Regions from separate parts of the Homo sapiens genome. Here region 1 is linked to region 2. The links are contacts of gene promoters, found by promoter capture Hi-C in blood cells and fetal thymus (Javierre and others, 2016). All regions are on one chromosome and are shown on one strand. Each heading gives the region's core, a stretch centred on a gene start or on the middle of the fragment in contact. The rest is flanking DNA. Distances are from core to core; before and after follow the strand shown. Region 1 overlaps JAZF1 (JAZF zinc finger 1). Region 2 holds the start of HNRNPA2B1 (heterogeneous nuclear ribonucleoprotein A2/B1).

What was found. Contacts are between HindIII fragments. The CHiCAGO score rates a contact against its expected background, and 5 or more counts as called.
Region 1: a fragment that was not itself captured here is called in contact with the fragment with the promoter of HNRNPA2B1 in region 2 in 1 of 17 cell types (naive B cells); the score reaches 5.5 in naive B cells.

Annotation. Positions count from the first base shown.
Region 1 is chr7:28,155,011-28,157,710 of GRCh38, reverse strand. The region is part of intron 1 of JAZF1 (JAZF zinc finger 1); the gene reads left to right. Among named protein-coding and RNA genes, the nearest start is that of JAZF1-AS1, 24 kb to the left of the region's middle. The HindIII fragment of the contact is 2,804 bases long and covers 1-2,700 here.
Region 2 is chr7:26,199,296-26,201,995 of GRCh38, reverse strand. HNRNPA2B1 (heterogeneous nuclear ribonucleoprotein A2/B1) reads left to right here and starts at 1,250. Exons shown (of 11, transcript NM_002137.4): 1 at 1,250-1,424. The coding sequence starts at 1,419. It overlaps CBX3 (chromobox 3), which reads right to left and starts at 251. Exons shown (of 6, transcript NM_016587.4): 1 at 170-251. RefSeq lists a silencer at 1-366 and enhancers at 1,307-1,696, 862-1,834, 1,807-1,926, 1,835-2,700. The HindIII fragment of the contact is 8,290 bases long and covers 1-2,700 here.

The DNA of each region.
Region 1 (2,700 bases), core at 101-2,600, 2.0 Mb before region 2:
CTGTCACGAATGGAAGTAGACTGTGGTTCAGGGTGGATAGTATGTCTCCTCCACGAAGCTGTCTAAGGATGGGTTCCTTCTGTCTTGTGTCATCTTCCCATCGGGCAGGGGTTGGCAAATTGCTGCCCTTGGGACAGATTTGGCCTGTCTCCTGTTTTTGTACAGCCCGCATACTAAGAATAGCTTTTACATTTTTAAATGGTTGGAAAAAATGTGAAAATTATTTGCAACTCAGATTTCACGTCCATAAATAAAGTTTTATTGGAACACAGTCATACTCCTTATTTTTATACCGTCTGTGACTGCTTTTGTGCTGCAATGGCAGAGTTGAATAATTGTGATAGAGCTGATAGGGCCCACAAAGCCAAAAATATTCACTGTCTGGCTCTTTACAAAGGAACTTTGCCACCTTCTACTCTAGGCTGTGGTCCTGACTCAGTGCTTGAGGCCAGCCTCCTCTCACTTTGTCTGCTTATCAGCCTGTGGGAAGAGGGACTTAGTGGGCACACCTAGCTGTGGGGGTGCTGAGGAGATCAGTCTGCAGCTGGGCAGCCATTTGCCCAGCAGACACTCTGGAGGTTCTGCTATTAAAAGGAAGGAGAGAGGAGATTGAGTTACATTGAGCAGACCACCACAGGGGCTGTGTGCATGCACATGTATGTATGCTTTCAGAATCCACTGTGGTTGGTTGAAGGATATCGAAGGTCATCTTAATGGATATTGAAGACTGTCTTTATTTATACGTAGTATGGAGTCCGGTATAAACAAATATGGGAAATGTAGCATATGATGGAAGAGAAGGTATTTATCTGCCCTTTGATTCATGCATTCATTCAATGACTGTCTCATAAGAATGATTTCCCCCCTTGCTTGGTAGTGTTCTAGTTCTAGGATCTGAATTTAAATTTCTTGGTGACGTACTCTTGCTTATAGAGCAGTGGTCTCCAAGAGTGGTCTCTGGACAAGCAGCAGCAGTATTTTCTGGATTATTGTATTAGATGTGCAGATTCTCAACACTGTGTCCTCTTGCCCCACACCTACGAAATCAGAAACTATGGGGCTGAGACCCAGCAATTTGTGTTTCAACAAATTCCCAGGTAATTTCAATACACTCTTGGGAACCTCTGCTGTAGAAGATGTAGCGTTAATTCATAACTATAATGAGCGAATGGTCTTCTCTCTTCACTGAATGAACATTTTGTGCTTTCTGGGGAATCAACAAACATTTTCTCCACTTACCTAAACTTCTTATCAATAGTCTCTTGTACTCAGAAAATGTACACAAGTCAAAATAGACAAATCATATTTTGGCTCCACATTTATTCTAGCAGACAGTGGCAGACTCTGCCAAAGCCACGAAGTGACTCCCCATGCAATTGGCCAGGTGACCACCACCACCACACAGAGCAATCTCAGTCCTTGACTGGTTCCTCTGTGTGAAAAGGGGCCTCTACAGCCTTGACCCAGTGACTTTCAGATTCTGAGGAAAACAGACGCTTGATGCCTGTCCAAAGTAAACAGAGCCAAGAGAACCTTTCACAAGCCTGGTTAAGGATCGATGGTTCCACCCAAATGATTTAGATGATTTGGTGTTTAAGTATGTTGTTGCATAACTCTTGGCAGCCAGAGATACCAGTGTGCTGGAGTGAGTGGCAATTTGGATTGAATGAATAAGGTATCTATCAAGGGTGTATGTATATGTACATACCAGCTACTGTGATTTGGACATTACCTACATTAGCTTATGTAACCTCATAGACACCTTATCAGGTAGGTACCCTTATACCCTTAAGATAATTTTCCAGATCAAAAAGCAGAGGCATTGTGAGGTTAATTTGCACAAGATCATCTTCCCAGGAAGAAGCAGGGTTAGAATTTGGACCCAGGTATTTGGTTCCTATACTTCCCATGTGCGCGTGCACACACACACAGACACACACATACATTCTGTGCTGTCACAGCCTAGATGTGGTTGTTTCTCTTGGTCTCTTCTGCATGGGTCATTTCTTGTATGATAATTCTGAATTTAGGTGGAGGTTGTAGTTGCTGAATGGGCATGGGTGGCCAGGCCCTCCATACTGTGTTCAGTACCTTTGATGATTAACTCTGAAAGGGAAGAAAGGATTACTTAGTGCAGGCCAGAGAGCTGTAAAAGGTTCCTAAATTACTCATTTCCCCTCTGAATTTCTCCTCTTGCCTCGAAAACTAAAACACACTTTATAGGGGAAGAATGAAGACCGTATAACTCTGTGGCAGCACAGTTTGGTAATTAATGGACTTGTGCCTCTATCAGAAGAGTGATGTATTATTCCAGAGCCCTGTAGAATGAGTTAAACTGAGAGTGAATTATTTGGTTTGACTGATGTGTACAGTAACTGAAGATAGTTTATTAGTGGGCCAGGTTTTAATCTTCTCTCAAAATGAGTTCTCCTCATATTCTGCACAACTGCCCAGTCTCTTTCATGCCCTGAAATTGAGTAAAAGGAGAAGGTGCTAAAATGGTTGAAACAAGAAGTGAAACCTTCTGTTTCATCATATGTTCCAGAAAATATACAGTGTGTTTTTACTGCAGCCTCCTTTCCATCCCCCCTCCCAATCATTTTCATTAGTGACTGATGTGATTGCAGAGTGGTTTGGTGGGGAAAAGTACTTGCAACCAAATTTAGTAAACCGCAAGCCAATTTTATTTTTAGTTTTAGT
Region 2 (2,700 bases), core at 1-2,500:
AGGCCAGCCGCGAGGCCACCGCCCGACCCTCCACTCCTTCCCGCAGCTCCCGGCGCGGGGTCCGGCGAGAAGGGGAGGGGAGGGGAGCGGAGAACCGGGCCCCCGGGACGCGTGTGGCATCTGAAGCACCACCAGCGAGCGAGAGCTAGAGAGAAGGAAAGCCACCGACTTCACCGCCTCCGAGCTGCTCCGGGTCGCGGGTCTGCAGCGTCTCCGGCCCTCCGCGCCTACAGCTCAAGCCACATCCGAAGGGGGAGGGAGCCGGGAGCTGCGCGCGGGGCCGCCGGGGGGAGGGGTGGCACCGCCCACGCCGGGCGGCCACGAAGGGCGGGGCAGCGGGCGCGCGCCCGGCGGGGGGAGGGGCCGCGCGCCGCGCCCGCTGGGAATTGGGGCCCTAGGGGGAGGGCGGAGGCGCCGACGACCGCGGCACTTACCGTTCGCGGCGTGGCGCCCGGTGGTCCCCAAGGGGAGGGAAGGGGGAGGCGGGGCGAGGACAGTGACCGGAGTCTCCTCAGCGGTGGCTTTTCTGCTTGGCAGCCTCAGCGGCTGGCGCCAAAACCGGACTCCGCCCACTTCCTCGCCCCTGCGGTGCGAGGGTGTGGAATCCTCCAGACGCTGGGGGAGGGGGAGTTGGGAGCTTAAAAACTAGTACCCCTTTGGGACCACTTTCAGCAGCGAACTCTCCTGTACACCAGGGGTCAGTTCCACAGACGCGGGCCAGGGGTGGGTCATTGCGGCGTGAACAATAATTTGACTAGAAGTTGATTCGGGTGTTTCCGGAAGGGGCCGAGTCAATCCGCCGAGTTGGGGCACGGAAAACAAAAAGGGAAGGCTACTAAGATTTTTCTGGCGGGGGTTATCATTGGCGTAACTGCAGGGACCACCTCCCGGGTTGAGGGGGCTGGATCTCCAGGCTGCGGATTAAGCCCCTCCCGTCGGCGTTAATTTCAAACTGCGCGACCGTTTCTCACCTGCCTTGCGCCAAGGCAGGGGGCGGGACCCTATTCCAAGAGGTAGTAACTAGCAGGACTCTAGCCTTCCGCAATTCATTGAGCGCATTTACGGAAGTAACGTCGGGTACTGTCTCTGGCCGCAAGGGTGGGAGGAGTACGCATTTGGCGTAAGGTGGGGCGTAGAGCCTTCCCGCCATTGGCGGCGGATAGGGCGTTTACGCGACGGCCTGACGTAGCGGAAGACGCGTTAGTGGGGGGGAAGGTTCTAGAAAAGCGGCGGCAGCGGCTCTAGCGGCAGTAGCAGCAGCGCCGGGTCCCGTGCGGAGGTGCTCCTCGCAGAGTTGTTTCTCGAGCAGCGGCAGTTCTCACTACAGCGCCAGGACGAGTCCGGTTCGTGTTCGTCCGCGGAGATCTCTCTCATCTCGCTCGGCTGCGGGAAATCGGGCTGAAGCGACTGAGTCCGCGATGGAGGTAACGGGTTTGAAATCAATGAGTTATTGAAAAGGGCATGGCGAGGCCGTTGGCGCCTCAGTGGAAGTCGGCCAGCCGCCTCCGTGGGAGAGAGGCAGGAAATCGGACCAATTCAGTAGCAGTGGGGCTTAAGGTTTATGAACGGGGTCTTGAGCGGAGGCCTGAGCGTACAAACAGCTTCCCCACCCTCAGCCTCCCGGCGCCATTTCCCTTCACTGGGGGTGGGGGATGGGGAGCTTTCACATGGCGGACGCTGCCCCGCTGGGGTGAAAGTGGGGCGCGGAGGCGGGAATTCTTATTCCCTTTCTAAAGCACGCTGCTTCGGGGGCCACGGCGTCTCCTCGGCGAGCGTTTCGGCGGGCAGCAGGTCCTCGTGAGCGAGGCTGCGGAGCTTCCCCTCCCCCTCTCTCCCGGGAACCGGATTTGGCGGCCGCCATTTTCATGGCTCGCCTTCCTCTCAGCGTTTTCCTTATAACTCTTTTATTTTCTTAGTGTGCTTTCTCTATCAAGAAGTAGAAGTGGTTAACTATTTTTTTTTCTTCTCGGGCTGTTTTCATATCGTTTCGAGGTGGATTTGGAGTGTTTTGTGAGCTTGGATCTTTAGAGTCCTGCGCACCTCATTAAAGGCGCTCAGCCTTCCCCTCGATGAAATGGCGCCATTGCGTTCGGAAGCCACACCGAAGAGCGGGGAGGGGGGGTGCTCCGGGTTTGCGGGCCCGGTTTCAGAGAAGATATCACCACCCAGGGCGTCGGGCCGGGTTCAATGCGAGCCGTAGGACAAAGAAACCATTTTATGTTTTTCCTGTCTTTTTTTTCCTTTGAGTAACGGTTTTATCTGGGTCTGCAGTCAGTAAAACGACAGATGAACCGCGGCAAAATAAACATAAATTGGAAGCCATCGGCCACGAGGGGCAGGGACGAAGGTGGTTTTCTGGGCGGGGGAGGGATATTCGCGTCAGAATCCTTTACTGTTCTTAAGGATTCCGTTTAAGTTGTAGAGCTGACTCATTTTAAGTAATGTTGTTACTGAGAAGTTTAACCCTTACGGGACAGATCCATGGACCTTTATAGATGATTACGAGGAAAGTGAAATAACGATTTTGTCCTTAGTTATACTTCGATTAAAACATGGCTTCAGAGGCTCCTTCCTGTAATGCGTATGGATTGATGTGCAAAACTGTTTTGGGCCTGGGCCGCTCTGTATTTGAACTTTGTTACTTTTCTCATTTTGTTTGCAATCTTGGTTGAACATTACATTGATAAGCATAAGGTCTCA